Linked DNA regions of Homo sapiens: all the other regions are linked to region 1. Evidence: promoter capture Hi-C in 16 types of primary human blood cells and fetal thymus (Javierre and others, 2016). All regions are on one chromosome and are shown on one strand. The core of a region is centred on a gene start or on the middle of the fragment in contact, and the rest is flanking DNA. Distances in the headings are between cores, read along the strand shown. Region 1 holds the start of CCDC68 (coiled-coil domain containing 68). Region 2 has its middle 57 kb from the start of C18orf54. Region 3 overlaps C18orf54 (chromosome 18 open reading frame 54). Region 4 has its middle 80 kb from the start of C18orf54.

What was found. Contacts are between HindIII fragments. The CHiCAGO score rates a contact against its expected background, and 5 or more counts as called.
Region 2: a contact is called between a fragment that was not itself captured here and the fragment with the promoter of CCDC68 in region 1, in 1 of 17 cell types (erythroblasts). The highest score is 6.3, in erythroblasts.
Region 3: a fragment that was not itself captured here is called in contact with the fragment with the promoter of CCDC68 in region 1 in 3 of 17 cell types (M2 macrophages, erythroblasts and total CD4 T cells); the score reaches 7.1 in M2 macrophages.
Region 4: a fragment that was not itself captured here is called in contact with the fragment with the promoter of CCDC68 in region 1 in 1 of 17 cell types (erythroblasts); the score reaches 5.2 in erythroblasts.

The regions. Positions count from the first base shown.
Region 1 is chr18:54,958,108-54,960,807 of GRCh38, reverse strand. CCDC68 (coiled-coil domain containing 68) reads left to right here and starts at 1,347. Exons shown (of 12, transcript NM_025214.3): 1 at 1,347-1,472. The HindIII fragment of the contact is 7,607 bases long and covers 1-2,700 here.
Region 2 is chr18:54,413,633-54,416,332 of GRCh38, reverse strand. It overlaps the pseudogene CUPIN1P. Among named protein-coding and RNA genes, the nearest start is that of C18orf54, 57 kb to the right of the region's middle. The HindIII fragment of the contact is 994 bases long and covers 794-1,787 here.
Region 3 is chr18:54,373,817-54,376,516 of GRCh38, reverse strand. It overlaps C18orf54 (chromosome 18 open reading frame 54), which reads right to left. Exons shown (of 9, transcript NM_001288980.2): 8 at 2,233-2,303. Among named protein-coding and RNA genes, the nearest start is that of C18orf54, 17 kb to the right of the region's middle. The HindIII fragment of the contact is 1,493 bases long and covers 626-2,118 here.
Region 4 is chr18:54,436,544-54,439,243 of GRCh38, reverse strand. No RefSeq gene overlaps it. Among named protein-coding and RNA genes, the nearest start is that of C18orf54, 80 kb to the right of the region's middle. The HindIII fragment of the contact is 516 bases long and covers 1,053-1,568 here.

The DNA of each region.
Region 1 (2,700 bases), core at 98-2,597:
AGAGACACAGGAGCCAACCTGAAAGAGTTCCCAGTGGTCAAAGCTGGAACCATTTGAGCAACAAAATTAATAATGTAGTATTGAATTCTAGCCCAAAGTATAAAATAAATATACATGGGTCCATACTGACATAACAAATACTGACATAAATGATTGAATAAACAAGAGAGATGGAACAAATCTTCCTTACAGAATCATTCTAAATAATAACATATAGATACTCCCTGCTCTGGGATGGAGTTTAATCTTGCCCTCATCTTGAGTGTCAGCTGAATTGAGTCATGCCATTCATGCCATTCAGAGTAGAGTGTATGGAAAGAGAAAAACAGCTTTGCAGTAGAGAAACCTGGCAGACACAACCTTAACTATGGGATCAAGGTCAAGTCACCAGTGATAAGTCACCTGGCCATCGTGCCATCGTCCCTGAGAGGATGCAGTGGGGAAGGCACTTCATCTCTGAGTCTTTCCTCCCCCCAGTCTCATCATGAGAAAAAAACAGTAGACAATACCCACATGAGTGGGTGTCGAGGTACCCCCACAAAACTATACCTTACCAGAATACTTCATCACAATACTTTACTAGAATTCTTTACAGCTGTCAAAGTCAAGAAAAGACAGAGAAACTGTCATGGATTAGAGGAGACAAAGGGCACAGGATGCTAAATGCAGTGTGGTATCCTGGCTGGGATCCTGAAAGGGAAAGGCGTTAGCCAAAAAGCTAGTGACAGCTACATCAAGTCTGGAGTAGTGTTAATAGTGGCAGATCAATGTTAATGTCTTTTAAAAAATATTTTTAGTAGAAATGAGGTCTCGCTATGTTGCCCAGGCTGGTCTCGAACTCCTGAGCTCAAGCGATCCTCCCGCCTGCCTTGGCCTCTCAAAATGCTGAGATTACCAAGGCGTGAGCCACCGCACCTGGCCCAATGTGAATTTCTTAGTTTTGACAAATGTGCCACAGTTATGGAAGCTGTAGGCATTAGGAGACACCGACTGAGGGGTATATAGACGACTCTCTCTACTATCTTTGCAACTTTTTTTAAGTTCCAAAAGAAAGTTTTTTAAAAAAACAACAAAATTGCACTTGTACTCCATAAATTTATACTAAAAACAATAAAATCAAAAATTATTTAAAAAACAAAAACAAAAGTTTATAAACTTAGGGTGCAAATAGAACCTTCTTGAAAAGCAGCGGCCGATCCCCTCCCCCCACCCGCCTGTACAGCACCCTAGCGAGGGGCGTGAGGGGCAGAGCCTGGCTCTCCAGCGCTGGGCGTACGCGTCCTGCCGCGACTCCTCCCCGGGGCCTCACCGGCGCCGGACTCTGCCCTGGGCGCGCCCCGCGGGGCGGAGCCAAGCCTGCGGGCGGTGGCGGCTGCACTCGCAGGGCCCTGGCAGCCGACCCTGGCCCCAAGGTCCGATCGCCCAGGGGAGGAGCAGCACCGGGACCCCGCGTCGGCTGGGCGCCCCACAAGGTAGGCGAGTCTGGCCACCTTCGGGCCCGGTCCCTGCGGCGCGCCCCCGCATCCCCTCCATGTGTGTGGGTGTCCAGGTGCCTTTCCAGCGGCTTCCCCAGTGGAGTTCCTGGCATCAAGGACATTTCCTGTAAAAGGGTCCTTGTTGAAGAGGTAATCCTCCCTGGAAACCTCGGTTCTGGGCTCGAATTTCCTGGGCGAGAAGTTTCTTCCCCATTGGGAAGAGCTGCTTTTCCGCAGAGAGGAACCCCTACTTAGTCCGGCGCACACCTGATTATTTATTTAGGTTGTTGTTATACAATCCGTTTGTCAGGGGTCCCCGCGATTTCTGCCTGCTAATTTCAGAGGCTATGGAGAAAAGTCCTGCGGTAAACGCCCTGACCTAGGAACTCCAGCGTGGTGGCTTTGACAGGTCACTGCGCTCGCATTTTTTAAAGAGCAGAGATGAATGAAGGTGGCTGTCTTCATTCATTTGTGCGGGCTTCTGCAGCCGCAGGTGTAGTAAAAAGAGCAGCCCATTGCTTGACCTTTTCCTTAATGTTGAGTAGCATCATGATATTTTAGATGTGGAAGTTACAGAGTGCTAGGCGGCTAGACAAAGGAACACTCTTATCTTACTGAAGGTTAGTACGGGACCGTGCAAGTGTAGTTTTTAGATTGGATGATAACATAGCTGTGAATTTTCAGCCTTTTTGGAAGTGAAGACAAAATTGAATATAAGGATCAGAACAAGCAACAAGCCCTGAACATAACTGAAGGTGTACCTGCTCCCCATTATATTCTGATTGTTTTATTTTAGGAATCAAAACCTCTTTTACTTTCTTGGTGTATATAGTTCGGATGAAGTGTCAGAATACAAAAAGGAATTATTCTGTGTTTGTGATAGGGAGGAGATAATCTGTTCTTTTGATTTTACCTAATGCCATTAAATATTCAGAGCTACTGAAGTCTGGTTTTCCTGATATGTGAGCTGGGCAGGAGTGTCAGGTACCCTGGCAGACACAATTGGTGCTGTTGTTATGCTTTTCCCCCGCTGCCCACTCTCTTCCCCACCCCACTCCCAATTTGAGAGGGAAGGCCCCTGACACAGAGGAATTTCTGCCCAAGGCAGGGAGTATCCCCGTGTGGTTCCTCAAATGTTTGCAGAAAGAATGAAAACAACTACACTTCTTGGGACCCAGGCCAACGTCATAAGGCCGACGTCATAAGAAGGTTCTTTCCTCTTGTT
Region 2 (2,700 bases), core at 41-2,540, 540 kb after region 1:
TTAAACAAACAGACTAATGCTTATAGGCACTGCTAACTAATCTAGTTGAATATATAGCCAAAGCCTGAATGTTTGTCTATCTCTTAGTTAAGCAGATTTTGTAACAACTAAAATACTACTCTCAGGACAAAAAACATAGATTCTTAAGAGGAGAGTGTGGGCAAACTAGTTATACCTGAGCAAGACAGTCATGTTCACTGGCGTTGAAGTGCCAGTGAAGGGCCTGGAGGCCATTGCTTTTTATCCTAAGTGTCCCCAGAGTCATTTGTGATCTCTGACTGTTCAAGCTGGTGCCAAAGGCCTCTTCTTCATTGCTGAGATAGTCTTTGACATTGTTCCTGTACCGGGCCCACTGGATTGTACCATCAAGGAAGTCAAACACCCGGAAAACCATAAACAAGCCACCATAAGCATGGAGGCCACCTCCTAAGAGCATGGGGCCTATAGAGTAAGAAGGAGGCAAAAGGGAAAAGGCAATGGTGGTGAGGTGAGTTTTGGAATCCCAGAAAGGAAGAGGAGGAATAGGTCTGTACGAGTCCAGGAATGGCAATAGTAACACACGCAGTGCTATCAGTCTAGACCCTGTTAGACATTTAAAGAGACACCTAGGGTGGCAAGAGAATAGAGGAATTTCCATTTGTCCACGTGCAATTCTCTACTCTAGTCAGACATGGAACTGTCTACTGAAGAACATTTCTGTCTGAGGTCAACAACGCAACTCTCCCCTCTTCTCTATCTCTCACCTTCCTTCATCCTGGCTCACAGTTCATCCCTTCCAATAGAGAATAAAGCTTAGTAAACATACAATGAGAAGGTGGTTTTAAAGTTGCCATTAAGAATAATTATTTTTCCTAATGTGTGTAATTCATACTTTAGATTTAGGTAAGTGATTAAGAAACTGAAATTCTGGATCAATAGCTTTTGATACTATGGGAGTCATTGTTTGCAGAGGCCAGGCTTCAGGTTTGAAATGAATGTCTGCATGAGTTGCTAATATAGACCAAGGAGAGCATGAGCACTCCTACTGCTGTGGTAATGATGCAGGCCAAGAGACACACCAGGAAAATGTTCACCCGTGACCACAGCCTGTTCTTTGCCTAGGGAAAATTAGAAAGCCATTATTCTCTACTTAAGACACATTAGAAATATTGCCTCCTTTCTCGGTTCTTAAATTTTTCTTTAAACTAACTTCAACTAAAATTCACTGACAAACATGATGAAAAGAGCTATTTTTTAAAGTATACTTAAAATGTATCTTTTAATTATTTCACGTTAAATCAGGACATGATCAGAGCAGGGGGTACTACATTTCTTAAGATGATAGCTGGCTTAAAGAGTTTTTCCTGAGCTCTGTGTTAAGGGTCTTAAGGGGAACTAGCCTCAAGATATAAACACCGAAATGCTGCATTGTAAAGAATACTAAAGATTCCAGCTTAGCTTCTATGTCTCATCTTCCTGATGAGGAAATTGAAGCCCAGGGTGGAGCAATGACTTGTGGAAAGCCACACTATTATCTGTAATTATAGGTGTAGAAAGAATTTCTCCTGATTCCTCTGTTATTCCACTAAATCAAAGTACTATCACTGCATATCATTTCAGGATCATTAAATTCTCTTTTTTGTTTTAGAAATCGAGTGTTGCTGTGTTGCCTAGGCTGGCCTCTAACTCCTGCCTCAAGAGATCCTCCTGCCTCAGCCTCCCAAGTAGCTGGGACTATACAAGTGCACAACACCAAACCAGATCATTAAAATGTAATACTCATGATCCAGCATTCTCAAAGGAAAGCTTACATTTACACACAACTGTAAGGTCACATTTACATTTTTAAAAGAAAATGATAGCATATAACTTTATATATCTAAGAGTAATTCTTTGCTAGACATTAGTATTTCTTCCTTAATCACTGGATTAAGTGATTAAACACTTCCTTGATCAGTGTTTCTCAAACTTTTTTTTTTTTAACTACATTCACATCAAGAAATACATTTCCCCCTGTGATCCAGTACATGTACAGATATACATGCACAAACACACACACACGTAAATACACACACACTACTGAAACAAAAGTTTCACAAAACAATATTTGTTATTGTATTAATTCCTTACACCTTATACAAAAATTAATTCAAGATGTATTAAAGACGTAAATGTTAGACCTAAAACCATAAAAACCCTGGGAGAAAACCTAGGCATTACCATTCAGGACATAGGCATGGGCAAGGACTTCATGTCCTAGAACACCAAAAGCAATGGCAACAAAAGCCAAAATTGACAAATGGGATCTAATTAAACTAAAGAGCTTCTGCACAGCAAAAGAAACTACCATCAGAATGAACAGGCAACCTACAGAATGGGAGAAAATGTTTGCAACCTACTCATCTGACAAAGGGCTAATATCCAGAATCTACAATGAACTCAAACAAATATACAAGAAAAAAACAAACAACACCATCAAAAAGTGGGCAAAGGATAGGAACAGACACTTCTCAAAAGAAGACTTTTATGCAGCCAAAAAACACATGAAAAAATGCTCACCATCACTGGCCATCAGACAAATGCAAATCAAAACCACAATGAGATACCATCTCACACCAGTTAGAATGGCGATCATTCAAAAGTCAGGAAACAATGGGTGCTGGAGAGGATGTGGAGAAATAGGAACACTTTTACACTGTTGGTGGGACTGTAAACTAGTTC
Region 3 (2,700 bases), core at 123-2,622, 580 kb after region 1:
ACTAAAAATACAAAAATTAGCCAGGCATGGTGGCACGTGCCTGTAATCCCAGCACTTTGGAAGGCCGAGGCAGGTGGATCACCTGAGGTCAGGAGTTTGAGACAAGCCTGGCCAACATGGCGAAACCCCATCTCTACTAAAAATACAAAAATTAGCCGGGCATGGTGGCATGCACCTGTAATCCCAGCTCCAATGAGTCTTCCTAGAGAACACATATTTCTAATTGAAGAATATAAGAAAACTGAGTATTTAAGGGACTAGACAAGGCCAGACTACTAGCTTACAGTTCCCTATGGCTAATGAAATATATCTTAAAACTGGATAGCCATCCAAATTATTAAAAACAAAAACTGTTATTTGAGGAATGTAAAGAGCCATAATAGGATTTTACCTTAGGAAAGGCCAATAAAGCCTACAAAGTATAATCAGTAACTTTTGAAATATTTTGGAAATATTTTGTAAATTTTGAAATACATTTGAAATATTTGAAGTATGAAAAGATGACCATATACCTAACCAGAATATTTTGCCGCCTGGAAAAAGGAATTCTGAGATGTAATTAAATTTAAATTGTCCTTAAAACAGTTAATCTACAGACTGAAAATAACTTTTGTAAGTCTAAGCTTACTTCATTACAGTACAAACGTCTTACTGATAATACTTTAGAAATGTAAAGACAAATTAAGACTGCTCCAGTTAATACAACAGAATTAATAACTAAAGGCCATCTAACAAAACATAAAACTTACTCTCTCTAAAAATGAAACTCCATATACAGGTAAGACTATTGATTGCTTATAGTAGAAAAAAAGTTACTATTAAAAAAATTCTAGCAAATGGTAAAAGCACTTATAGATCAGTATCGATTTTTGTGGTGATTAAATGACTTACAATCCACTGTTAGTTTTCACCAGGAAAAACATCTAGGATATGTACATTAACTCAGAAAACACATATAGGTCTGTGACAAGTGCAGTATAATGCTTTAAAGAGCAATGGAAAACTTATGGTCATTCACCTCAAATTTTAAAGCAGAATGAAGTCTTCATACTAGATGATCAACTGAGGCCCTGTTCTTAGTCTCAATGAATAATTCATCACTATCATTAGTGAGAGTAGTGTTAAAAATACAGACTTTCAAATCACACTACCTGATCTGAATCCCGCTTCTTTTACTAGCTATGGCAAGTTACTTTACTACTCCATGCCTATTCTCCGATCTGTATTATGAAAATAATAATAGTACTTACTTCATAAGGTTGTGAAGATCACATGAATTATATTCAATAGCACTTAGAATACTGAAATTTGGTAAACATTCAATGTTAGCTATTACTATCATTATTCACTGAATTCTATTAGGTATGAAACATTATACCCCAGTACTATGGCAAGCTACAAACAAAGGTGCATTATTTATACCCTAAAGATAATAAATTAAGTAGAGAGAAAAAAGTAATCATACATGATACATTTTAACTATGAAAACTATATACACATTTGTGACAATTAGATTCGTAAGTTTACATGTCTAGTGTTTTATTTTCCACCAGTTCCTTAGATCACAGAAGCCTAAGCAAATTCTCAAAGTACAAAAGGTAGCCAAGTGAAATGGTGTGACTAGAGTAGAAACTTTTAATCTCAGTATTTCCTAAGTTCAGTATTCCATCTTCTGAGGACACTTCATAGTCACACAACAAACTCCAAAATAAATACCCTTCTCTTCTGTCAATATCATGACTATAGAAACAACTTGTATTTTTCTCCATTTTATTATTTAAGACACTGTAACTAAGAAAATTAGACCTATCTTTATATCCAGGTCATTATATCTACTTTAGATTTCTGTAATGATGTTCCAAATCACGATCCATTTATTATTAAATTTATTCTAGAGAGAATATATGAAAACACATTTCATACAAGTTACTGTTATAGGATACTCACAAAAATACTATCATAAATTGTTGCTATTACTACTCAAAAATGAGTCATATCCATTATATTTTAGAGGTCTAAGGCTATCTCATTAGGTCCTTAGAACACTTTGAATAGGAAAAAGCACAAGTTTAAAAGAAAACAATGTTTTTTAGTGTAAACAGTGTGCTCCAAGAAGCTTAAATATGCCTAGTAGTGCTACTCTTAAAACTACTTACTTCTACCCTGTAACTTTACATATGTCAAAGAAATGGCTAAGATGGATTTGTATCCATATTAGTAAAGAATACTTACTTCTGAAGTGACCTAGTAATAGGAATCATACTTTCCTTCAACTGTAATTTAGAGAAATCATCTTCTGAAACCTATTATTAAAAACACCAAATATAACAAAATATTAAAATTATATAACTACAAAATTAAATGGTATTGAAAATGTGATTAAAACATTAAAAAATATTTTCTACATTTCCAAACAATTCTAATTTTCAAGAGTATTAAATATTTTTATTTTCCATTTACTGTAAAAACACTACAACTAACAGCCATTTTTCAACTGTCCTAAAGTATACTTCTACACATATGTCCATTAAAAATCAAGTCTTCGCTTAAAATTATGACTTTATTGAACAGGCTTATATCTCAATGATGTTTAGAATGAGAGGGGAAAGAAAGATAGATTACATTCTACATATTAATGTTATGATTATTAGAATGTAAGGACAGAAATTAAGAAATACAACTCAAATGAGCAGACTATGA
Region 4 (2,700 bases), core at 61-2,560, 520 kb after region 1:
TTGAACTCAGCTAGTCCATATCTAGAAATATTTCTATGAGATCCACACGCAAAAACTGGAGGCATGGGATGATGTGTGGAGTGGCAATCATTTATCCATTTTCATTGGGATGACTATTGAGAAAGTGACATTTAAGCAAAGTCCTGAAGGTGTGGGAGGTTCAAAATCTGGCTAGAGGGAACCACCAGAGCAAATGCTGTAAGACACAAGTGTGCCAAGGGAATTGGAAGCTCAGCCCAGAGGCTTATGTGGCTGGAGAGCAGTGAGTGACCAGGAACAAGAGTAGTAAAGATGAAGTCAGAGAGGGAGTTGTGGTGGGCCATGGACAGATGGGACATGGAAAGGGGCAGAGAATAGAAGATAGATCACATAGGACCCTGTAGGATTCTAGTTTCTCTCTGGATGACATGGGGAGCCACTGGATGGTTTTGACAAGAAGATGACATGATCTGACTTAACTTAAAGATCCCTCTACTTTTCTAAAAATAGACTGAAAGTGGGATGCAAAGGCAGAAGTAGAAAGGCAACTTAGGAAGCCTCTGAAGCAAGTCAGGAGATAAATGATATAACTCTGCCCAAGGTGGTGACAGTGGCAGTAGCAAGAACTGGTCAAATTCAGGATTAGCTCAGAGTAGAGAGAAAATGTGAGAGAAAGAGAAAAGGCAAAAATGACTCCAAGGATTTTTACCTGAGTATAGAATAGATAGGATATTTGGAAGGATAGAATTGCCAGGAACCAAAATGAAAAATGCTCAGGGAGAACAGTCTTAGAACAAAAGATTAGAAATTGACTTTCGTTCCTGTTGAGTTGGAGATGTTTATCAGACAAGCAAGTGGAAATGTCAAGTGGGGAATGCCGACAAGAGTCTAGAGTTTTAGACAGAGGGTCTAAGGGAGAGATGGGCTTAGCCAGGTGGAGGAGTGAAAGCAAAGACCTCCAGCATCATCACAAGTCATCCAGGAACTGTGTGGTGTCGATTAGGCATGTATATCATTTCATCATGGTTTTCTTTACGGCATGTAAAAGGAGAGCTGTGCACTAAAGTTAAGCTTAAAGTAACTAACAGTCTTCACCATAGTATCCAGTGTTCAGCCTAACACTGCCATGAGAAGCACTAGATGAAAGTTGCCATTAAATTCTTTCCTGGCCAAGTACAGTGGCTCAAATCTGTAATCCCAACATTTTGGGAGGCTGAAGCAATATGATTGTTTGAGGCCAAAAGTTTGAGACCAGTTTGGGCAACATAGAGAGAACCCACCTCTTAAAAAAAAAAAAATTGTAATTAGCTAAACATGGTGGTGCATGCCTGTAGAGCCAGCTGCATGGGAGGCTGAGGCTGTGAAGCTGGAGGATGGCTTCAGCTCAGAAGTTGGAGGATGCAATGAGCTGTGATGGCATCACAGCACTTCATCCTGAGTGACAAAGCAAAACTGTCTCTTAAAAAAAAAAAAAAAATCCTGCAACAGCATGCACAACTCTCCAAAGCTGTGTTCCGATAATGAAGAGAATCAAAAGAGGTGGCAAGCACATTCTAGGTAGGTTAAAGTCTCTAAATGAAACCAAAGCTTTACAAAGTTGTGTTACCTTTTACCTCTCTCTTCCACAGTGAGACTAGAGGTTCAGTTAACCAGGTAATATCAATTTCTAGAGCAGTTACATCGTTATCACTCTCATGTGCTTTGTATCTAGAAAAGCAGCTTTTCAGGCCCCAGTTTTCTCATCTGAAAAAGGAAGGGATTGGACTAGGTCATTGAGTTTCAAGCCCTTTTCTGTTTTGTTTGGAGCAGAGCAGGGTGAAAGCTGGTAGAGGCATTGAGCACCCCAGTTTGACTCACCCCTTCTCCAAGCCCAACTCTATGGAGTCTGCTTTGGACACTGTTAGGAACACACCCTGAGCTTCCTGGACTAGCTGGTCCAGATGGTCCCTTCCCAGCTCTGAGGGTCCCTTTTTGTTAAATTGAATATAGTTGTAGGGTAACAAAGTGACAGTGAGGGTCTGGAACGCTGCGAGTACAGTAGCAGACAAGTACAGTAGCAGACGTACTCGCAAAGGAAGTGGTTTACTACAAGCAGGAAGTCTCTAAAATACAGTAAGAAGCCATGTGGAATTCCAGACACTGAGATGCTGTAGCAAGTGACAGAGTAATCTGGCTGGGACACTTAGTGAACAGTGGTTTTTCTCTCCTTTAAACAAAGACACTTTGGGGAAGAGTTTCAGCTAGTAATTCAAGTCCATACGAATTTCCTATATGACTATTGTGGATACATGACTGATGAAGCCCCAGTCCTACTTGAAATTCATCATGCAGATCAAGTTGCCCTTAATCAGTGTCTGTCCCAAAATACCTAAAGTCAAATTTTCTACACATCTTCTACTCTTAAGTCCTTTAGAAAGAAGTTTCTGATTCCCTATGTCCTTTATATGTTGGGTTTGGGGAATTTTTAGTGCCTGTATATACAGGTTTTTCAACATTTTATGTTGTAAGTCAGAATAGTTCTCATACTCCACGAAGAGGAGCACGGAAGGGGCCTCTCTGAATGAGCCATCATGTCTAGAGTGACTTTCCCAGAAAGATAACCAGCGTCAAGTAGCCTAAGAGGAAACTTTCCAGAGGATTCGCCAGCCCCTAGTCCATACTCCACCACCCTGACTCCCCTTCCTGCTGTCACTGCAGTTACAGGAAGCTCTATATCTTCCG